4 separate regions of the Homo sapiens genome follow, and regions 1, 2 and 3 are each linked to region 4. The links are contacts of gene promoters, found by promoter capture Hi-C in human tissues and cell types (Jung and others, 2019). All regions are on one chromosome and are shown on one strand. The core of a region is centred on a gene start or on the middle of the fragment in contact, and the rest is flanking DNA. Distances in the headings are between cores, read along the strand shown. Region 1 has its middle 6.7 kb from the start of IL4. Region 2 has its middle 13 kb from the start of IL4. Region 3 overlaps RAD50 (RAD50 double strand break repair protein). Region 4 holds the start of SHROOM1 (shroom family member 1).

What was found. Contacts are between HindIII fragments. The study calls those that stand out against the background at their distance.
Region 1: a fragment that was not itself captured here is called in contact with the fragment with the promoter of SHROOM1 in region 4 in 1 of the 25 tissues and cell types used here (lymphoblastoid cells).
Region 2: a fragment that was not itself captured here is called in contact with the fragment with the promoter of SHROOM1 in region 4 in 1 of the 25 tissues and cell types used here (heart right ventricle).
Region 3: a contact is called between a fragment that was not itself captured here and the fragment with the promoter of SHROOM1 in region 4, in 2 of the 25 tissues and cell types used here (hippocampus and lymphoblastoid cells).

Annotation. Positions count from the first base shown.
Region 1 is chr5:132,664,093-132,670,536 of GRCh38, reverse strand. No RefSeq gene overlaps it. Among named protein-coding and RNA genes, the nearest start is that of IL4, 6.7 kb to the left of the region's middle. RefSeq lists enhancers at 5,051-5,578, 6,375-6,444. The HindIII fragment of the contact is 7,573 bases long and covers 1-6,444 here.
Region 2 is chr5:132,683,378-132,690,199 of GRCh38, reverse strand. It overlaps a transcript of KIF3A not described here. Among named protein-coding and RNA genes, the nearest start is that of IL4, 13 kb to the right of the region's middle. The HindIII fragment of the contact is 4,749 bases long and covers 1,954-6,702 here.
Region 3 is chr5:132,637,351-132,640,179 of GRCh38, reverse strand. It overlaps RAD50 (RAD50 double strand break repair protein), which reads right to left. Exons shown (of 25, transcript NM_005732.4): 23 at 1,957-2,099. TH2LCRR (T helper type 2 locus control region associated RNA) reads left to right here. Exons shown (of 3, transcript NR_132125.1): 3 at 1,915-2,132. Among named protein-coding and RNA genes, the nearest start is that of TH2LCRR, 17 kb to the left of the region's middle. RefSeq lists an enhancer at 482-561. The HindIII fragment of the contact is 4,174 bases long and covers 1-2,829 here.
Region 4 is chr5:132,826,016-132,832,886 of GRCh38, reverse strand. SHROOM1 (shroom family member 1) reads left to right here and starts at 2,240. Exons shown (of 10, transcript NM_001172700.2): 1 at 2,240-2,293; 2 at 5,280-5,426; 3 at 6,300-6,610; 4 at 6,705-6,871. The coding sequence starts at 6,747. RefSeq lists silencers at 1,932-2,351, 2,562-2,871. The HindIII fragment of the contact is 17,651 bases long and covers 1-6,871 here.

The sequences.
Region 1 (6,444 bases), core at 2,093-4,592, 160 kb after region 4:
CCACTGGGTTGAACTCATCTTCCTGGTCTCCTTCCGGGAGGCCAGGCTGATATCACAGAACCTCAGTGGCGTGGCCAGCCCCTCCATGGTCGTATTGTCAGCAAAAACTACCTAGGGCCCACCATGAGTCACTTCACTCGCATAAACTCTCAGAGACCACCATGAATAATAAGATACTCCTATCACTTGGGAAATCCCTAGGAATTTGGGGCTACCTCCTGGGAACTGGTGACAAGGACTAGCCACGTTGTTTACTCCAAGGGTTTGTAGCTGGTAGGACCTCCCAAGAGCCAGGACAAAGGCCAGACTTCTTGGATAAAGGTTGATTCTTCACTGCACAAACTGGAGGAGAGTTATGAGAAGAGCAGGTGGTTGCTTCCAAAGCAGGTGGGGACTTTGGATCCGATGAACTATTATGTGGAATGAAGTACAGCAGCGGTTCCAGTTAACACAGGAGGGAGCTCATCAAGCTGCGGACTTGCTGGGTGGAGAGCTTCTGCCAAATAGGTTCTCAAGGAGAGTCGGGGATGCAGAAGGGGAGCTGGTGGGGAGGGCGGGGTTCTGGGGCGTCTGTGGGGGCAGTGGAACAGCCATTTATGTGTCCATCTGGTGTTTTTCTAAGCACCCACTAAAGGGCAGACCCTGGGCTTGAGGCTCTGAGGGCAGAGCTGGTGAGTGAAAAGGGAATATTAGGTGGGCACCTTCAGCTCAGAAGCAGAATCCAGCTTGTTTTGTTTGTTTCAATGGTGAAATGAGGCCAAAGATGAAAGGATAAACTGTCCAGAACATTCGAGAGTGACCAGGAGTCTCCCCAGAGGGCAGAAGTGGGGGATGGGCCATCCTCGCCTGCAGGGACAGCACCATGGCAGCTGCAGGTGCGGCAGGTGGGTAGAGATGGGGAAGGTGGGTGCCTGCATTGTCAGGGACAAAGAGGAGGGCAGTGATCACCACCACTACCACCACTGCGAAGGAGTCTCCGAGCCTGCAGGGCCATGGGCAGTGCCTTGGCGGGGTGTGGTGGGCCTGACACCAAAGTTCAGGAGGGAGGTTGAATACTGCTGTCTCTGGCTGTGTCGGTCACAGGCCCCTTCCCCTCCCCTGTGTGAGAGCTGAGAACCAGCGCCGGCCCCTCCATGGATGCAGAGTTTTTCCTTCAGGCCCTGGAACGTAGCAGTTATGAGCACTGCGTTTGGGAGTCCAGCAAATGAGCCCTTATCAACTCTGTGACCATGAGTAGATCATTAACTCTCTCTGGGTCTCGATTTTCTCACCTGTGAAATGGGAATAATGTGGCTCTTCCTTGTGAGGAGCAAGTGAGTGGTTCCATGGAAAGTACTTGGCATGTGTCATCCAGAAAGGGGGTCTGTTAACAGAGGCTGCTATAGTACACGGTGGCTAAGAGAGCGGACGCTGGGCCCAGGTGGTCTGTCAGGCCTGGCTGCTGTGCCTCCTGGCTGTGTGACCTTGGGCACGCTACTCAGCCTCATCTGTGAAATAGGGGTCATAGCTGTCCCTGTCTCATGAAGTTGCTCTGAGGAATGAATACATTTAAAGTTTTCAAGTATTTAGAATAGTGCCTGGCACACAGTGAGTGTGATGATGATAATGATGACTCCTATCTTGAGTTGCTGAAATGACTGATGCTTCATCTATTAGGCAAGCCCAAGTCTGGACAGGGCAGTGGAGATCTGGCCAGACGGGCCCTCCCCACAGGTTCCTCCTGGATGTGCCTCCTCCGTCTTTGAGTTGCCGTCCTTGTTTCTGGTGGGTCACGGTCTCCACACTGCAGCCCGCCTACTTTAGTATCTGGATTCATTACAGGGAACAGACACAGCTGTGGGTGCTTTAGTCAGGAAAGGATTTCATGCAGGAAAGTAGGTGCTTCTAAGAATGTCAGGAGGGCTGGAGGGGCAGGCTCCAGGCTGGGCCCAGAACCCTAAAGACCTGACCCACTCAGCGAGCCACCCCTGAGGCTGCAGTGCCGGGATTCCAAAGCTGCTGCCTCTGCTGACCCCCTACACTGTGAGTCTGCTCCAGGAGACTCCCGGTCTGACTTCCACACCATGAGTCTGCTCAAGGACACCCCTAGTCTGAATGACCAGGTACATGGTATCTGCCGCCCTCCCCTCCACAGCTTGTCAGCCTTCATCTAATTGGAAAAGCCAGATGCTCGCTTCAAAGGAGTCAGAAACGCGGCAGTCAACTAGGAGAAAGGAATACAGGTCGCACAATGCAGCCCAGTCTCCACGGGCCTCGTTCATTGATGCTTGCTGTCCCAGCCATTCCTGTGGTCCGAGTCGGGTGAATCTCACCTCCCTCCTCTTCTGTCAGTCCTGCAGGCCAGCACCCAGGAGAGTGCTTTCCAACCCCCACAGGCTTAGTCATGGAAAAAGGTGAGACTTCTCTGAGGGAGGGGCACTTAAGCAGAGTTAGGGATGAGCCGGCTTTAGCCAGGAGCAGGGGCTGCAGGGTGGGGTGAGTGCAGGCAAGGGACAGCAGGTGGAAGGCCCCGAGGTCACTGAAGAGAGGGCTCCCAGGAGGGGAGCACGGGCCGAGGGGACCCAGCCAGAGCATTGCAGGCGCCCGTGACAGAGGCAGCTGGCGCGAATCGGGTGGGATGGTGGCAGGGAGAGCTGTGGGCTCTTGAGTCATTTGGCCCAGCACAGTGTCTAGGTTAAGACCTGGTGTCTTGGTGCCCACGGGACCTGACTGGTTCTGAATCCCAGCTCTGGGTGACCTTGGAAAAGTTCCCCCATCCAGGCTTCTCTGTAAAACTGGGCTGATTACAGGGGCGAGGGAATACTATAGAAGGTGACAAATATGAAGTGTTTGGTGTGGTGACCGGCATATTGCAAGCCCCCGGAAAATGCCAGCAATCACCATCACCACCACCATCATCATTAATAGCACTTGGAAGTGACTGAATGTGGGGGTGAGGGAGAGCAGGAAGTCGCAGGTGGCCCCAGGTCTCTGGCTTGGGGAGGAGGCAGGGGAGAGGGCAGGCGGCGGGTGGGAGCCACCAGCTGAGGGGCTGCTACGGGCCATACTCTGAGAACAGGGGAGGGTCCAGCCTGCAGGCAGTAGACATGGAGGGTGACTAAGCCAAGGGGAAGAACACAGTGTTGCTGGAAAAAGGGGTCCCGATTCAGACCCCGAGAGAGTTCTTGGATCTCGCACAGGAAGGAATTCAAGGTGAGTCGTGGTGTGTGGTAAAGAAAGGATGTAGAAAACTACTCAGAGTAGGGTGTCCTCAGAAAGCATGAGCAGGAACGCCTTGTCTGCTTAAAGCTTTTCTTATATAGGGGTCTTGTCTATACAAAAGCCAAGCTACATTATGTCTATGTGCAGGTGGGCTGACAGTGTCACAAAATTTAGTACTTTGTTGATTTAAATAATGTTTTATCCTTGGCCTTTTAGTGAGTAAGTACATCAAAGCATTACTGTAAATAGCTTGAAAGCATATATTGTTATGAGACATCAGGACACCCAGACATTCTGCTGTTGTAGGAGTTTGTCCTTGCGGGCGTGACTAAACTGCTTCCTTGGCGTAAACATCTCATGACCATGGGTAGTGACTGGCAAGGAATATGCCTAGCTAGTTTTAAGATGGAGTTGATTTTAAAATGGTGTCACCCTGGCTCTCCTCCACTCCTGTTGACCTAACAATATGGCCAAGGGGTGAGAGAAGACAGGGGACAAGAAATGAGCCAGGGCACTCCTGCGACACTGGAAGGTGGTGAGGCAGGGTGCAGAGTCCAGGCATGAGAGAGGCCCAGGGAGGAGGAGCAGTGGTCAGCGGCAGCAATGTTCCTCGTAGGTGAGGCTAGATAAGGGCAGACATGCGTTGCTGCACGGAGTGGAGTTGATAATCAGTGACCTCATGAGATATCTGAGTGCAGTTGGGGGCACAGGAAGTGGCCAGATGAGGTGGAACTCAGTATGGGCATCTGGGAGGGCAGCTGTGTTGGGCTGCAGGCTGCGTCGTAGGTTGTCAGCTGTGTTCTGAATGGGACACAATCAAGCACAGGCTGCCCCAGCTCAGCGAGCGGCAGCTTCATCCTTGCAGTTGTTCACACACAACACGGGAAGACCTCACACGCTCATATCCAAGCCACCCCAAAGCCTCTCCTTTCACTGATGTGACATCTCGGATTGGTGGTGGTGGGGAAGGGGCGGGGGTAGAGATGGAACAAAATTGACAAAACTGGCCATGAGTTGCTCATTGTTGACGCTGGGCAATGGATGCTTGGGAGTGACTTTCGTGTATATTTGAAATTTTCTGTAATAGAAGATTTTAAAATTGTAATTGCATAGCAAATGTAAATATTAACATATATGCACATTTATATATTATATATTTATATCTATACTTTATGGATTATATAATATACTATTTAAGTAAATAATGTATACGATAGCAGTATAATGTATACATGCATCTTACACACACGCCCCTCTCCAGTCCTCCACTACCACAAGCACCATCGCTCCCCACCAGCATCTCTGCAGGCACCTTGGCGCTCATCTCCCTGCTCCGCCTTCGCCCTGCGTTGCGTTCTCCACACAGCAGCCACGGTGACTTTGTTAAAATGTGAGTCAGACCACATCACTCCATTCCACTTAGAATGAAGCCCGGTCCTGGCCTCTGAGGCCCTGCTGGGCTCCTGCTGCCCTTGCCGTGGCCTCTGCTCCAGCCCGAGGGCCACCCGTGAGTGCTGGGAAGGGCATCCCCAGCTCGCTCTTGCTCAAGACCTTAGCACCTGCAGTTCCCTTTCCCTTGATGACTTTGCCCCGATCTGTGCATGGGTGTCCCCTCCCCTTGTTTCGTCCCGATCTCTGTTCCCATCTTATCTCATGGGGAGGATTTCTCCAACCTCCTCGCATAACACAGCACTCTCCCTGCTGTGCAGCCCCGGACTGTTCTATTTCCCACGGTAGCGGCTACCACCGCCCGACACACTGAGTGTTCTCTCGTTGGCTTATTCTGTCTCCCTGCTAGAAGCAACCTTGTTTTGTTTAGTGGACCCCCAGCACCTAGAGCAGGGTCTGGCACCCAGGCAAGGCCTCAATCCATACTTGTTGAATGAATGAGTGGAGCTCCATTTCCACGGAGCCACTGAGACGTGGCTGAAGTAACAACACTAGAAGTCAGGGACACAGCTGGGGCTTGAAGCTGGGACTAGTTTCACCCTGAGCCCCCGGCTATATGCTCTGCCTGTGTTCCTGAGAGGGGAGGGGATGGGGCCCAGAGCACAGACACATGGAGGGCCCCATCCAAGGGCACAGGGACCGAGGGGAGGAGAGAAACGAGGCTGGCAGGCAGTGGCATAGACTCCGCTTTGCGGAGCTGTGGGGAAGTAGCTCTGCAGGCTGTTGGCTTCTCTTGCCTTTCAGAAGCAGGTGGAAGGTCCTTCTCCCAAGAGAGGCAGAGCTGCTGAGGAGTCTGCAGGAATGCTCCATCTGTCCCCATAGTGTTAATGTCACTTCAGCCTCAGAGCTAGATGGGCGGCCTACCCTTTCCCTTCCCACTCCCGCTGGCTCCTGTGCCCTGGCAGGCCAGGGCCTAGTGAAGACCCCCAAGAAGGCAGCACCTTCCTCTGTCTTTGGCAATGTGGGATCTGATGGGTCCAAGAGTGCCCAACCCATGGGAGGAGCGGTGCTAGTCCTGTCTGGCTGAGGGGCTGCCTTGCAGGCCCCTGCAGACCCCCACCTCCTCTCCCGAGAGGGCCGGCTCCCCAGGGAGGACTTAGGCTGGTCTGAGGGGTGCTGGTGCTGGTCCAGCCGGGGGATGCTGCAACCAGGTCTCCTCACTGGCCTGTCTCGGTCCACATCCTCCATGGAGCAGACATCACGTTCATGTTCTTTTTGCTTTTTAAAAATGAAATTTATCCTTGTCTCCCATTGGAAAATGAATGCATGCTCATTATAGAAAATGTGGGAAACAGATCAGAAGAAAGAAGAGTAAATAAAAATTGCCTTTTCCAATGTGGCATCACCACAGCTCCTCTGGCACAGGGCCCTGGGCTGGGCAGGGAGTTGTGGACTGTGTGGCCAACAGGCCATCGGGCTGTGGGTCTACAGGGGATGCCATCGGTGGCTTGGGCCTTCCTCCCTTGAGGGTTTGGGGAAATGGTGTCCAGCCCCCGCACAGTTGTCCACAGTGATGCAGAGAGTGGAGCTGACGAGAGTTGCTATATTTAATTTTGGTGCCTGCGTCACCTCTGACCACACAGCAGCGTCTGCCCAGGCAGGCAGCACATGGCTGGGGGTGTTTCTGAACGACGCTGTGAGAGAATCACTTTCCCCAAGAAAAGGTATAGCAGAGGGGAAGGGAGAGACAGCAACAGAAAGTGAGGTCGTAAGTAGAAAATTGCTTCTGGGATTTCAAATGGCTTTGTCATGGGGCCCTCCCTTGCTGCCGAGAAATCAGTTGATCTGGGAAAG
Region 2 (6,822 bases), core at 3,079-5,578, 140 kb after region 4:
CTGTTGCCCAGGCTGGAGTGCAGTGGCGCAATCTCAGCTCACTGCAACCTCTGCCTCCCGAGTTCAAGCGATTCTCCGGCCTCAGCCTGCCAAGTAGCTGGTACTACAGACGCAACACCATGCTCGGCTAATTTTTGTATTTTTAGTAGAGATAGGGTTTCACCATATTGGCCAGGCTGGTTTCAAACTTCTGACCTCGTGATCTGCCTGCCTCAGCTTCCCAAAGCGCTGGGATTACAGGCGTGAGCCACTGCACCTGGCGTCAAGTGGCTTTTTTAAAATGTGTTTTTTGTAGGGGTGGAAACTCCTCTGGTCATTCCAGGGGTCTTCCTCTCCCCCACTTCCAGCTTATGTAAAACTCTTACCTGTGTGTAGAACATGAAGACAAAATTAAAGGCCTGCCCTGGCATGTACAAGATAATAAATCGTGCTGCCTTTTCCCCCTTTGCCCCTCTTCTGCAATTGAGTTCTGGAGCTATGGTGTCCAGTTTCATCAAGCGATACCACTGAGCCACTCCCTTACAAACGCGTCTGTTACTGCCTGTGTTGTCGGGATGCTGCTGAAGACATTGTCCATCCTATCATCTTGTGAAGATTCTCGAGAAATTTCTTTTAAAGCTAAGTACCAGATTATTATATCAGACTATTTTCTCCCCGCATATATAAAAAGAGTGAAGTAAAATAATGCGTTTTCCACTGTGCTTTTGCTGATAGGACTATAATATCTGATGACCTGCTTATAGTCTTATTTTTCTCTGGATCATCATTTCCTCCTACTCCCTTTCTGCTTTGGTCCTAATAATGTTATTTTCTGTCTTAATCTTTTCCAATAAATCACTTTGAATCCATTTTTAAAACAAGGTAGAGTAAAAATCACTGAAGACCACCGTTAGCCTGTGCCTTTACAGAAGGAGTTAACACAGTTCTGAAGCCACAGCCTGAACTTAAAGCGAGCTGGAGGAGCCTTCCAAACACATTTATTAATTATTATCTCAATTTCTCTGTCTTAAGCTGTTTCATTTGCAAAGCAAATCAGGTATTCAGTCCTTTTTCGGAAGTTGAACAAATGTGTGGGAAAATGATTACGAAGAGGCTACTTCAAAAAGAACCTGTTTCCTCTCAGCATTTATCTTGGGCTTCCTGTGACCCAATCTTCAAGTGACTTTTATCAACGTTATCAGAAGATCAGATTGTCTCACCCAAACACGTTTATGGCTCTGACTAAAGAATATGACAGATCAGATATTCCTCTCCACCTGCTCCCCTCCCCCATCCCTTTTTAGAGGGCTGGGGAAATTTTAGTTTTTAATCAAAGGCTTTATTTCTCCAGTTGTGCAAAGGAATTTAACTGGGACTTTACAACTGAATAAAGTATTTCTCAGAGTCGATACTAATCTTAGCAAGAGGATATTGCCTAACCCAACCTAAAAGCAGCAGAGTCATTACAGAAATATTATGTTGGCCTTGATTTCTACCCCACCATGAGTTATGCTACTCACCAGGTAGCCTGTTTTGTTTTTCATTTTTAGAGACAGGGTCTCACTCTGTCACCCAGGTTGGAGTGCAGTGTCACAATCATAGCTTACTATGACCTCAAACTCTTAGGCTCAAATGATCCACCTCAGCCTCCCAAGTAGCTGGGACCACAGGTGTCTGCCACTACACTTGGCTAATTTTTTAATTTTTTGTAGAGATAGGAGCTTGCTAAGTTGCCCAGGTTGGTTTGGAACTCCTGGCTTCAAGCAGTCCTCCCGCCTTGGGCTCCCAAAGTGCTGAGGTTACAGGCGTGAGCCACTGTGCCCAGCATGTGCCCTGTTTTAAGTGTATCTCCTGCTGTAGTCCGTTACATGTGCACATCTCTTCTGTGTTTACTGTGTACCTGCTCTATGCTGAGAAGAATGTCTTTTCAAAACTCACACCCTCCCTTAGGAGAGAGAGGTGGCCACATGAATGGAGAATGACTGCATAGCATGCTGAGGGCTGTGGTAAAAGAGGCTGAATGGTGAGCTGCCAGGTACGGCATCCTTCCTGTGCAGCTGACATGGTGCCTGACACATGTCTGCCTGACCAAAGGGGCAGAAGAGGCTTCTCAGGGGAAGTTCTGTTTGAGGTCTTCAGCAGTTCAACAGCTGGGGAAAGGTATTCCAGGAGCGAGTGAGTTTGGATGCCATGTGCGTTGGTGGTGTGCTTGAAGTAGAGCAAACGGGGTGGAGGCAAATGAGCCTGAAAAGGAAAGAGATGGGACAGGATCCTACTGTGGAAGAGTTTTCTGTAAGCAGTGGGAAGCCACAGAAGGATTTTAAGTGGGCCATTCACATTGTGTTTTATTTTGAGACAGGGTCTCACTGTCACCCAGGCTGGAGTACAGTGGCATGATCAAGGCTCACTGAAGCCTCAACCTCCCAGGCTAAAGCAATCCTCCTGCTTCAACCTCCCAATTAGCTGAGAGCACAGCTGTGTAAAAATTTAATTTTTTTTTTTTTTGTAGAGACAGGATGTTGGCCAGGCTGGTCTCGAACTTTTGGGTTCAAGCGAAGCTCCCATCTCAGTCTCCCAAAGTGCCGGGATTACAGGCGTGAGCCACTGCACCTGGCCTATTTGTGTTTTAGAAAAACAACTGCTGGGCCGGGTGTGGTGGCTCACCCCTGTAATCCCAGCACTTTGGGAGGTTGAGGCAGGTGGATCACGAGGTCAAGAGATTGAGACCATCCTGGCCAACATGGTGAAACCCCGTCTCTACTAAAAATACAAAAAAATTTACCTGGGCGTGGTGGCATGCACCTGTAGTCCCAGCTACTTGGGAGGCTGAGGCAGGAGAATCACTTGAATCCCGGGGGCGGAGATTGCAGGGAGCCGAGATCGCACCACTGCACTCCAGCCTAGTGACAGAGTGAAATTCTGTCTCAGAAAAACAAAACAAAACAAAAAGAAACAACTGCTGGAGAGTTTGTGAAGGATTAGAGGGAGCAAGACGGGATGCTGGTTGGGATGGTGGTTGGGAGAGCAGATGCTATACACACCTGTGTCCCGGAGGTGGAAAGGGTCATCAGCCAGAGGAGTAACCGCCCTCTCTTCTCAGCTGTTTTGCTTGCACTCGTGATTGGTATAAACTGAGGGAGCAAATGTGTGTCCTCTTATTCACGTTGCCTAGTAAGTACCCAGGTGTGCAGTGAGCATACAAAACATCAAAACATATTTTCGTTTGGCTGAACTCTGGCTAATCAGAAACTAGAAGGAACAGACAGCTTAGAGACTTAAAGTTGGACTAGGAAGAAGTTGACAGGATGGATTAGAAGATAGCCACTTTAGGCTGGGTACAGTGGCTCATGCCTGTAATCCCAGCACTTTGGGAGGCCGAGGTGGGTGGATCACCTGAGGTCAGGAGTTCAAGACCAGCCTGGCCAACACAGTGAAACCCCATCTCTACTAATAATACAAAAAAATGAGGCAGGTGTGGTGGCAGGCACCTGTAATCCCAGCTACTCAGGAGGCTGAGGCAGGAGAATTGCTTGAAGCTGGGAGGTGGAGGTTGCAGTGAGCCAAGATCTCGCCACTGCACTCTAGCCTGGGTGACAGAGCGAGACTCTGTCTCATTAAAAAAAAAAAAAAAAAAAAAAAAACAACAACACTTTAGAGAGCCAAGGAGAGGGTGTCTGGGTACTTAGGGCAAAAGCCCAGTTGAGGAAACGCTGGGCGTGACAGCTAACTGGGGATTTTAGTACTCCACCTGGGAATGGAACTCAAACTTGAGCTAATAAATTGAATCTAGAAATCAGCCCCAAGGCTAGAGAAAGTGCCTGCCTTGCTCCTAGTGGAAGCTACTAGAAACTGAGAAGCCAACCCTGTGTGTCATAGGCCAGGCTGTGCCTAGCTCCATAAGGAAGCTCTGCGTTGTGCTTAGCCTTGAGATTCCCATCCTTAGATAATGTGGGCACCCTGAGATTATGTGAAGGAGGGCAGAGAAAAACCAAGAGCAGGGTCAATGACATGGACAGCAACAAGCAGAGCCCCCTTGGCATTTGTAACAGAGGTGACCCTTTGTAACTGTAGCCCAACAATGTTTCCATAAAAGACAGCCATAGATTTGAGCCAAATCATTTTTTGATTCATTTTTCCAATAAATAATTATTACCCCCTAGATGCCAGTTACAGATAGTTTATTCATTGGCAAAAGGTGGAGGTATGATAGCCAGGAGGGAAAGGTTCAGACTTACTGTCAATGTCATATTCCACACACAGACAAAAGGCATGTCCCATGAAGCAGGCACGGGCTGTGGCTGAGTTTGCTACATAAATGTGCTCAGATGACAAGCATCTTAACTTTCACTTAATCCTGAAGGTTTTTCACCCTCTGTTTTTTGTTTTGTTTTTTTTTTTTTGAGACAGAATCTCGCTCTGCCGCCCAGGCTGGAGTGCAATGGCACGATCTTGGCTCACTGCAACCTCCACCTCCCAGGTTCAAGCGATTCTCCTGCCTCAGCCTCCCGAGTAGCTGGATTACACGTGTGCACTAGCATCCCCAGCTAATTTTTGTATTTTTAGTAGAGACGGGGTTTCGCCATGTTGGCCAGGCTGGTCTTGAACTCCTGACCTAAGGTGATCCGCCTGCTTCAGTCTCCCAAAGTGCTGGAATTACAGGCGTGAGCCACTGCGCCCGGCCTCACCCACTGTTTTTATAAGTATCCCCCTCAATTTGTGTTCTCATTGTCTTCGGAAATTCAAAGGCTTGTTGTTGTTGCATGTTTGCATCCAGAGTCCAGGACTGCCTGACTGGGAGTAAATGGAAATGTGAGTTGCATCTTGCCTAATGAAGCTTATGTGATGACAGACCTGCTTAGAGTCTGCATGTGTCCTTTCCATGGCGTGCTCTAAATCTTCCTACTTTCCTTTACCATCCTGTCCTCATATACAAACTGTAACCCACTACCCATATCCTGTGGCAGACTACAACTCACATTAGCCATTGAATGCAAATGAGCCTCAATCAAAGAAGAAAGGAAATTAAAATTTACAGTATGTGTCTTCTCCGGTTGGCCTGAGGAGCCTCCATGACTCTCATAGCTATTTATTGCCCTTGGCATGCTGGTATTTTATGTGGGCAGGGTGAAACTGGCTGTGGTCAGGGTGAGACTTGAAGCTTTTGATTTGTTCCCTTATTTTGAAAGGGTTAAAAAGATGTTACATGTTTTGGTGTAATTTTAGTACTCATATTAATTTTGTCACATCTCTGTAAGCGAGGATGAAAAGAGAGTGCTCAATCACTGTTACTAGATCCATATTCTTACAGAGAACAAGTCTTCAAAAGGCAAGTTTTGATGACACTTGGGTTTTTTTCCCCCTTTTAATTTCTTTTAAATAACAGCTTTATTGAGATAGAATTCACCTACTACGAAATTTATCCTTTTAAAGTGTACGAGTCAGTGCTTTTTAGTATGTTCATAGAATTGTGCAACCATCACCATTATCTAATATCCGAACATTTTCATCACCCCTGAAAGAAACCCCACCCCCCATTATCAGTCACTCCCCATGCCTCCACACCCGCCTCCCACCCACAGCCTGTAGCAATCAATATTCTATTTTTGCCTCTGTGGATTCTCCTGTTCTGAATAATTCATATCAGTAGAATCATACCATATGTGGTCTTCTGCATTTGGCTTCTTTCCCGTCACATACTGTTTCCAAGGTTCATCCGGGTTGTGGCCTCTGTCAGTACTTCATTTCTTTTTATTGACAAATAATATGCCATTGTATGGATATGCCACTTTTTGTTTATCCATCAGTTGATTGACATTTTGGTTGCTTCTACTTTTTTTTTTTTTTCTTTGAGACAGGGTCTTATTCTGTCGCTCAGGCTGGAGTACAGCAGCGCAGTCATAGCTCATTGTAGCCTCAACCTCCCAGGCTTGAGCCATCCTCCCACCTCAGCCTCTCCAGTAGCTGGGACTACAGGCATGTGCCACCATGCTCAGCTAGTTTTTTGTAGAGACAGGGTTTTGCCTTGTTGCCCAGGCTGGTCTTGAACTCCTGGCCTCAAGTGATCCTCCTGCCTCGGCCTCCCAAAGTGCTGGGATTACAGGTGTGAACCACTGCTCCCAGCCACTTCTACTTTTTTGCTATTATGAATAATGTTGCTATGAACATTTGTGTAGAGGTTTTTGTGTGGACATGTGTTCCTAGTTCCCTTGGGTATATACCTAGGATTGGAATTGCTGGATCGTAAACTATTTTATCCTTTTGAGGAACTGCCAATTGTTTTCCAAAGTGACTACACCATTTTTCAATCACTCCAGCAATGTAGGAGGGTTCCAATTTTTCTACATCTTCACCAACAGTTATTGTCTTTTAAATGTTATTTCTTTAATGAAAAAACTTCATTTATGCACATAACACACACACACACACACACACACACACACACACACACACACACACACACACACACACACACACACACACACACACACACAGACTTATAATGGAAAGCCGAAAGTCTCCAGCCCTGTTTCACCCCTCCTTAGTCCAAGTCCCATTCCCAGCAAACCATCTTCCATTTTTATTTTTAGTTTTTCCAGTGACTATCATTATAATTCCAAAGATTGCTTGATTCATTATTTTTTCTTCTCTTTTTATTATGAAAACTTTCAATTATGTATAAAAGGAGAATAGTATAACCAACCCCCTGTACACATCCCCAGCTGCAACAACTGTCAACCCATGACCACTTTTACCCACTGTTTTTTGCTTTATCAGTGTTAGATGTCATACATTGATTTCCCTATTGAAGAAAGAGAATTTACCTAATTCTATCACTTCCAAATT
Region 3 (2,829 bases), core at 330-2,829, 190 kb after region 4:
TAAAAAAGAAAATCCTAGGTCAAAGTATCAGGAGTATAGAAATGTGGTTTCAGTTAAGCTTACCTGTAGAAAATCCAAGTAACTGGAACTGTTAGGCATTTTCGTGGTTACTAGAAACCTAATACTAAAACCCTCAGACCCACTGAAACCATCTGAGGATACAAGACACACAGAATTGAGAGAGTAGGGCTATTCTAGGAAGTATAAACTACTCTGGTGTGAGCTGTAAGTCCCCTTTCCCCCTCAGTTTGTGGGTGGGTGCGCACACATCAGTGAGTTGGTAATTTTAGAATAGTTTATGTCTTTTCTTTAATGCCTAGGCAAGCCAGAAGACAGGGCCACAGCTTGGCCCTGTGAGGGACAGGCATTTCCTTCCTGTCTTTGAATCCAAACTGCTGTCAACTCTACCACCACCCACTCACATGCAGAGCCCCTGGCTGGCTGCTAGAGCCTCAGCAAAAGCCAGTGTTAGGTAGGCTGGAGGCCCACCTCCATTATTTGTTCTCTCCCCTCACACCAAGGAGACAATTATTGCTAATTAATTTTCATAACTCAGAATAGCTACAAAAAATCTTTTTCCTCAAGATATTTTTGAAAGTATTTTTAATTCAAAGAGACCATGTTTCAAACTCTGTATTTTCTCATTTATAATTACCACTAAAAATCATCAAAGCACGTAGGGATACTGATTACAGATCACAAGTTTGTCATTTTTGTAGACTATGATTTAGACAGTAATCTGCAGATGCTTTAAATTGGGATCAGCTGTCTAGGCTGACAACATAATACATATATGCATGGCATGTTCTTTTTTTTTTTTTTTTTTGAGACGGAGTTTCGCTCTTGTTGCCTGGGCTGGAGTGCAATGGCACGATCTCGGCTCACTGCAACCTCCGCCTCCCAGGTTCAAGCAATTCTCCTGCCTCAGCCTCCCGAGTAGCTGGGATTACAGGCACATGCTACCATGCCCAGCTAATTTTTGTATTTTTAATAGAGACGGAGTTTCACCATGTTAGGCTGGTCTCGAACTCCTGACCTCAGGTGATCTGCCCGCCTCGGCCTTCCAAAGTGCTGCGATTACAGGTGTGAGACACCATGCCCAGCTGCATGGCATGTTCTTTAAGCAAAAACTGCAAACTATGAAAATGAGTTAGATAATGTAAGCATCTATTTCTATGATTTTAGAATTTTATTTAAAAAAAGTCAAGGGCCTAGAGGTGTTATCAAGTGTAATCTTCTGCCTTGATCTGAAAGCAGAAAGCTCAAGTATCTGTGACATCTTTGTTACAAACCTGTGCACAGTGAAGGATCCAGCCTTGTTCCCCAAGGATGCCATATTCCTGATTCTTTAAAACTTCATTCCTCTTCCTGATTTCCAATGTAGGCTGTCCTCACAGAGCCTTACCTGAAGCCAGATGGCCTGACCCAGCAGCTAAGTCTTTGTGTATGCTGTGGTAGGGACTTAGTTCTATGAGGGGCTACTTTCTTAATGAGACTCCTTACTATACTGGAATATTCATTCTAGCTTAAGCTAGAATCTGGTTTGCAATACTATTATGTCATTGATTCTGAAACATCTTATGGTTATAATTGCATTTTTTCATTCCTGCTGGCACATAAAATAGTGGTATGTCTTATAACTGATGAGACAGTGACCTTATTCTGATAAGGAGTGCCATGAAAACTCTAACGGGTCTTCAGCTTCTTGTTCTACATTTAGCCTATCCTGTGAGAATGCTTCAGGCCCTTCTTTTAAAAGTCTACATAATGTTGCAGGAAATGTTGGTTAGCTTCAGGAGAGTGTAATAATAGTAGCTGAGCCTGATTCATTTTATATAGCAGCAAAGAGCTTCCCACCATTCAGGTGTAGCCTTGGGTGCTTCCACTGCACTGATGTTTGTTTCTCTCTTTCAGTTACTTGGGTGAGTTGGCTCCCCAGGCTTTTGAGATACCTGCCTTTTGTCCAGCACTGCATCGTCCTCGCATATCCAAGGCTGTGTCTCCCTTCAGCATCACCACTCGGTAGTTATAATTCCGCCTTTTATCAGAAGCTGATACATTTTCATCGGCATCAGACCGTATTTCTATGTATTCAATATCTGACACAGGAAGAAGAATATTTTAGAGGAACCTATGCTCTGTAGCCTTTTGTCATTTACAAACATATCAAGTAAGCCTAGGAACAACAGATGAGGCTGACATTACCAGAGGAAAACAATGGCTGGTGTGGAAACTCTTTCTCTGGCTGGGAGGATTCAAGAGCCTGGTGGTCTGGCCAGAAGCAACCCAGATGCCCCAGTTCCTCAGCCTCAACTCTTTCTTAGTTTCCCTGTTAAGAGTTTCCTCCAGGCCAGGCGCGGTGGCTCACGCCTGTAAACCCAACACTGGGAGGCCAAGGTGGGCAGATCACCTGAGGGCAGGAGTTTGAGACCAGCCTGGCCAACATGGTGAAACCCCATCTCTACTAAGAATACAAAAAATTAGCCAGGTGTGGGAGCGCGCACCTGTAATTCCAGCTACTACTCGGGAGGCTGAGGTGGGAGAATCACCTGAACCCAGGAGGTGGAGGTTGCAGTGAGCCAAGATTGCACCACTGCGCTCCAGCCCGGGTGACAGAGAAGTGCGAGACTCCATCTGGAAAAAAAAAAAAGAAAAAGAAAAAAAAAAGAGTTTCCTCTGGATGGTTTTTCTTATTGCATTTTGGCTTATCCCTATCTACACTATGACAGAACCTATTATGTCATCAGCTAAATATAATGCCTACTGCAGTCAAATATGTAAGTCCTGTTAGGCTCTGGAACAGAAAACTTTACATTTTCTTGCTACAAG
Region 4 (6,871 bases), core at 991-3,490:
AGCGGTAGGTGGGTGGAGTGGGTTAATAAGAATCGCTCTGGACTGCATCCTCATGGTCCCTAGCAGAGAGTTGCTTAGTGTGTGCAAGAGGTGAGTGGTAGGTGGGTGGAGTGGGTTAATAAGAATCGCTCTGGACTGCGTCCTCATGGTCCCTAGCAGAGAGGTGCTGTAGTGTGTGCAAGAGGTGAGTGGTAGGTGGGTGGAGTGGGTTAATAGAATTGTTCTGGACACTGTGTCCCCATAGTTTTCAAGAAATATAAGTAAAAAACATAACCATTTTTTTTTTTTTTGAGACAGAATCTCACTCTGTTGCCCAGGCTGGAATGAAGTAGCGTGATCTCGGCAGACTGCAGCCTATGCCTCCTCGGTTCAAGCGATTCTTGTGCCTAGGCCTTCCAAGTAGCTGGGACTACAGGTGCGTGCCACCACGTCCAGCTATTTTTTTTTGTATTTTTGTAGAGACAGGGCTTCGCCATGTTGCCGAGGCTGGTCTCGAACTCCTGAGCTCAAGCAATCTGCCCACCTTGGCCTCCCAAAGTGCTGGGATTACAGGCATGAGCCACCGCCCCAGCCAACATGAGCAATTAAAAATTTTTTGTTGTTGTTTGCTGGGCTGTCTTTCTTCTATTTTGATGCTGCTGTGAGACTCTGTGGATCAGGGTCTTAAAAATATTAAAAGTCTTTCAGGCCGGGTGCGGTAGCTCATGCCTGTAATCCAGCACTTTGGGAGGCCAAGGTGGGTGGATCACCTGAGGTCACGAGTTTGAGACCAGCCTGGCCAACATGGCGAACCCCGTCTTTACTAAAAATACAAAAATTAGCTGGGCGTGGTGCCCGGTGCCTGTAATCCCAGCTACTTGGGAGGCTGAGGCAGGGAAAATTGCTTGAACCTGGGAGGCGCAGGTTTCAGTGAGCAGAGATCCGGCCACTGCACTCCAGCCTGGGCGACAGAGGGAGACTCTGTCTCAAAAAAGCAAAACAAACAACAAAAGTCTTTCAAAGCCGAAAGGTTCTTAGGCACTGTCTTAAAGCCTAGCGCTCCAGCTGAAGCTGGTGCCTGAGTCCAGATGGTGTTGAAGAAGGAGCAGGGCCCAGCGGGCACCACTCTCAGAAGTCGGGCTCAGGTGTCTCCTGCCTCCGAACCCAAGAAGACCCAAGAAGACAGAGTTCCTCAGGCTCCCAGTGTCCCTAGGAAGTGGCAACCTTGACTCTTGGCCAGAGTTCAGAGTCCTGGTTATTAACACCAATAAACCTTTATTTGCCAGGGATACTACCATGGGAGGACACAGCCCCTGAGCCCAGCCCTGTTGATCCTGTGGGAGCGGGAGGGCAGCGGAGGACAAAGGCAGAGACCTGAGAGCCGGAGAGGCTCATCAAAGGGTCCCCAGCCCCTCTCAGGAACGGAGCATTTCTTGGCAGAGTGGTATTCATAGGACAGAGTTTGGGAAGTCGGGGCAGGGGAGCCTGAGGACACAGCAAGGAGAGCTCAGTGGCAGGTGCAGGCAGAGCGTTCTTTGGAAAATGGAGATCCTGGAAGGTGAGGGCCTCGAGCGCCAGTGTCCAGCCTTAGTGGGTATGCATATGTCCAGCTCCCTAAGGACACACTCAGGACAGCTAAGGTGCACACAAGTCCAGGGGCTTCCCCGTGCTCCGCCCCCCTCTCCCCCACCCCGGTAGCAGGCTGGAGGGCCCAGACCATGCTGGGTAGTGGGAGAAATGGAAAGAAATGGGACAGGGAACAGGAGACAAGAGCCCATGGTGGGAGTCAAAGAGCTGGAAGAGTTTTGGAAATGGGGGTCTGGGGGTAGAGTTGATCAAGGGCCGAGTTACTCAGCGGGACAGGTGGGAGGCACGAGGCCCTGGCAGCTCTGTTTTCTTGGCCGGGCTTGGGGGGGAAAGCGGGTAGCCGTCAGGCGCCTAAGGGCCCGCCCTGGACCTCCCCACCGAGGGAGGTGTCAGGCCCCGAGGGACCCGGCCCCCGAGCATCACGGACGCGCTGGAGGCCGGTGGGCGGTCGCCGTAGTCGCCCTCCCACCACCTCGCTCAGGTTTCTCCGGCCTGGGGCAAGAGGCCTGTGGCCCGCGCGGGAACGCACTGTCCACCCTCAGACCTGGGACTGGGCCGGCGCGCGGACGCTACCAAGAGGCTGCGGCTCCCGCCCCCGCGGCCGGACGTGGCGCCTCCCCTGAGGCCGCGGCCGGAGCCTGGAGGTGGGGTCGGAGTCAGAGCCCGGGGCTCTGATGTCACCGCGCGGCTGCGACGGCCCAGGAGCGCGTCTCGGCGGGAGCCTCAGGTACGCGGCGGGGGCGGGGGAGCGGGAAGCGGGCGGCTGGGTCCGCTTCCCCCGGGAGGCCGGCGGGGCTGCGGGCGGACGGGGGTGAAGAGCGGGCGGCGAGGCGGTGGTCGCGGGGCAGCCCGGGCATCGTTCGGCCGGGACGTGTCTGGCTCGGCGCCGCGTCAGGTTGCGCCAGTGGAGTCGGACCCCAGCGCGCCTCTCCCAGCTGCAGAGCTGCAGGGCGGAGAGGCGGCCCACTCTAAGCTGGCGGCGCGGCTCAGGGGCGCGGCTGGGCGCGCCGCGTGTGGCGCCGGCGGGCAGCGCGGTCTCACTCCGCCACCCTCCGCTCCTGCCCTTTGTCGCCAAGCATCTGGAGAAGCCGGGTCCTTCCCTCCCGGGCTCGCGCTGTCCCCTGCGCGCGATCCTTCCCCGACGGTGAACCCAACGGGAAAGGCCCAGAACTGCGCGGGGCTGCGGCCATCTGCTGTCGAGCCGCTCCGCGTGTCTCTGCCGCCCCCTGCGGCCGCCGGGGCCTGCGCCTCTCTCCCTCCCGTGCCTCGGCTCCCAGAGATTGAACCCCAGGTAACCGGGTCTGTCCACGCCCGCGGCCGCCTCTCCCCGGGTGTCGCCAGCTTCCTGCATTTCCTGTGCATGGCACGGAGCTCGGGTCTCCAGAGACTCTGCATCTGGGGTGCAGCGACCGATGAGCCCGTAAACCAGTCGCACACTCGGAGCGTGGATGCTGCGTGGGGTGCGCTGTCAGCGCGGACAGGCTGGGAGAACGGGGGACGCTGGGGACAGGGAGAGCCGGTGAACTTCCCAGAACGTCCGCCTAGCCAGACCCAGCTGCGGGTACTGGGTTTTGAGACGTGGTCCAGTACCCAGGAACTCAGTCTGACAGGGAGACAGCGCCTACACAGTGAGCCCAGTACTGAGGGAAGACCCGCTGGGAGGGGCGGCCTGGATAGCCCCTCCACAGAGAGGTCAGATGTGAGGTGGCCTTGAGGGAGGTATGATGTAAATCCTGATCATTCGTTGTATTTGAGGCTGTCCGTTCTCCTGTGCCTCCTCGGTCGCCTTACTTGGATCTGTTCCCATTGCCTTGGTGTGATTTTATCCACCGGAAACTGTCTTCAGCTATTTCCCCAGTAACCTCTAACTAAAAACCTGGGTCTTGCCTGGTCTACCCTCCCCTGCTGAACTCCAGAGCCACATCCCAACTGCTGCCTGACTTGTCACAGACACCATGAAGCCCAGACTGAAGGAGCACTGGCCCCCTTGACAATTCCTCAGCCCCAGCTCCTCCTTTCAGACTGGTGCCTCCACCTGCCAGACCCCTAGCTTTGAAGGCCAATCTCATCTTCGTCTCCTTCCTCTCTGGCTCCTTCATTCAGGTGACAAGTATACATCAAATGCCCACCCCAACTCCCCCTCCCAGGACTCCAATCTGGTGTCTTTCTAGCGGGGAGTCTAGGTTGCTCCCTCTGCTCTGGAGAGGCTTGGCAAAATGCCTGCAGAGCTCCTTGAGCTCCACCTCTGAACTCCCTTTCAGCAGCCGGCACAGGCATAACAGCCCAGCCCACAGGTACCACTGCCACTGAGGCAGGGACCCCTAAGGTAGGGCTACCCCCAGCCACAGGGGCTGGCTGGACTGCAAGAGGCTCCCTGCAGCCAGACAAGTATGAAAATGCCTTGTTGTTTTGTGCTGAGGCCCCCCAAAACACACCAAAGCAGCTGGGCCCTCTTGGCATGGTAGGTTCTGCAAAGCACCCACTGTGAGGAGCCTGCGTGAACATCAACCTGATAGGGCCACCAGTGCAAAAGCATCTTCAACAAGTTACAGTCAATAAGGAAACACATGTGTAGACACATTTTTATTGCCCATTCAAGCTGTTTTTATTTGCTGAATTCAGAATCCTTTAACATAGTAACTCACAAATAAGATAGATTTTCATAGATTTTCAAGACCTCTTTTGAGGAAACATCTTGTGTTTGGTGATCCCCATCTGTAGCTGCAGCAAGCCAAAATGGGCAGGATGGGTGACATGAGCTAGTGCTCCCAAGCTGGACTCAGAAAGAGTAGGAAGAGAAAGGGCTAATGTCTGAGCAGTCGGGTGGGCTTCCTAGATGAGGGGACTGTCCTCCCAGGAGCTGCTACTCAGAGTAGTTTCTTGTCCTCCTAAAGTTTAGAGTGGAAATACTTTGCAAAAGAGGTCCCCAACCCTAAGTGTGAGGGCTAAGCTCCTGGGCTTAGTAGGCATATACAAATGCCCCCAGGTGGGTGACATCAAGATGTTCTGGTCCTAGGTCTGCTGAGAGCCTCTCCTGGGAATGTTGTAGGTACTGCCTTTCCCTTTTAGGAAACACCATATCCTCCTACCACTAACCCCCATCCTTGCCCTAACCAGCAATCTGTAACATCCTGGGCCTCAGGGACGTGGGTGGAGGGTGACTCTGAGCTCCAGATAGTGTCTAGGAGGCTCAAATAAGCCTGCTTTTTGGTCCTCACCCTAGCCGTGGGCCACCCTACTCTGCACTCCCTACCAAGCAGCTCAGAGAATGGAGGCCAGCGCCCAAAAGTCTCCATAGTTCATAGGGAGCCCCAAACCTCAACACTGCCCTTTCCCAAGCCTCAAAATTTCTCTTACCCTGACCCAGGCACACCCACTCAACTCTTACCCTTGATCCCCCTCCCAGGACCAGAAGGGATTGATTTCTGGTGAGTCCTGCCCCAAGCTGTGCTTGCCTGCTCTGTTCGTACCTAATATTGCATGAGGAACCTGGCCAGTGTCTATGGTGGCAAGTGCTTCACCCATTCTGTCCTCTTCCCCAGAAAAGACTAATAGGGAGGGAAGAAGCGTGCGCAGAAGCTAAGGAACTCTCTTCCTTCTCTACCAAGGCCACCCCTACATCTACTCCCTGCAAATCTGTTATTTCCCTTGACATTCAGCAAATATTTGGGGTTTTGTTTTGTTTTGTTTTGTTTTGTTTTGTTTTGAGACAGAGCCTCACTTTGTCGCCAGGCTGGAGTGCAGTGGCGCGATCTCGGCTCACTACAACTTCCGCCTCCCGGGTTCAAGCGATTCTTCTGCCTCAGCCTCCCGAGTAGCTGGGACTACAGGCGTGTGCCACCACGCCCAGCTAATTTTTGGTATTTTTAGTAGAGATGGGGTTTCACGATGTTGGCCAGGATGCTCTTGATCTCTTTACCTAGTGATCCGCCCACCTCGGCCTCCCAAAGTGCTGGGATTACAGGCGTGAGCCACTGCACCCGGCCCAAATATTTAACATTGACTGTATGCCAGGGACTCTGCTGGGCACTGAGAGTGCAGCAATGAGGAAGAGCAGGGCCCATTCTCAGGAAGCTCAGGGGTGGGAATGGGAGGAGGGAATCAGAAGCAAGCCAACAGGGACAGTGTGGGGTGGGGGTCAGCTCAGCACACTGTAGGAGTCCCAAAAAGTGAGGAGACCTCTAAGCTGAGTCCTACAGGAGAAGCAAGAATAGAAGCAGGGCAAAGATGGGGGTCGGCCCATCATTCCTAGACGAAAGGCAGAGTTTGAGAAGTGGGGGCCAGATTATTTTGGAATCTGCCAATAGTGTATGGGGAGGTAGGGGTGACTTTCCCATAGTGGAGTGTGGGCTTCCTTGGAGGATTCAGGCTGTTGGGGAACAGGAGGGATGGTAAACTGCCTTTCAGCAGGGCTTGCTTCTAGGAAATTGATTCTGGCTGCAGTGAGCGTGGAGGCAGGCCTGGATTCCAGGCAGGCTTCTGCCACGTCCCAGCTGTGTGGCCCTGGACAAATCATTTCCCTCTCAGAACCTCATTGTCCTTGTCTGTAAAATGCAGACAGCAGTTGCAACGATCAAAATAAATATTTATATAAAGCACCTGGAACATAACAGGCACAGAGGGAGGGAGGAAGGCTGTGAAGCTGCCTCTGCCCCTTGCCCTGGGTCTTCCCCCACCCCTCCTTTCTTAGCTCCCCTGAGGTCACAAGAGTGTTCTTGACCATTGTTTATCAGGGAAAGATCACATGGAGAAGCCAACAGAACGGCCAGGAAGCAGCCTGGGTGGAACAGGGTTGGGGAGGAAAGGAACATGGGTACATTCTCAGCGTTCCAGGAGGTCTCAGGGTAAAGGCTGCTTGTGTGGGCAAGGGGAGCCTGGCAGGGAATGAGCTGGTCCCAATTCCTTCCCCTGAGCTGGGCCCTCAACCTTCAGAGGTGCTCCCTGGGACTGGTCCTACTTCCTCTGCCACCTCTGATCCCAAGGTGACTCTGCCAAAATCTGGGGGATGCCAGCGCTTGTGACGGTGTGACCAGGGAGGGGAAGTGTAAGTGTCTGGCCGTCCGTGGTGGCGGGGCCAGCAGGCTGTCCCAGCCCTCACCCGGAGCTCCTCACCCGGCACCACATCTGTGTTTTCCCAGGACCCACGCAGCCACCCAGCCTCAGCACTCATCTGCGCAGCCATGGAGGCCCTGGGACCTGGGGGCGACCGCGCCTCCCCGGCCTCGTCCACTAGCAGCCTGGACCTGTGGCATCTGTCCATGCGCGCGGACTCGGCCTACAGCTCTTTCTCCGCAGCCTCCGGCGG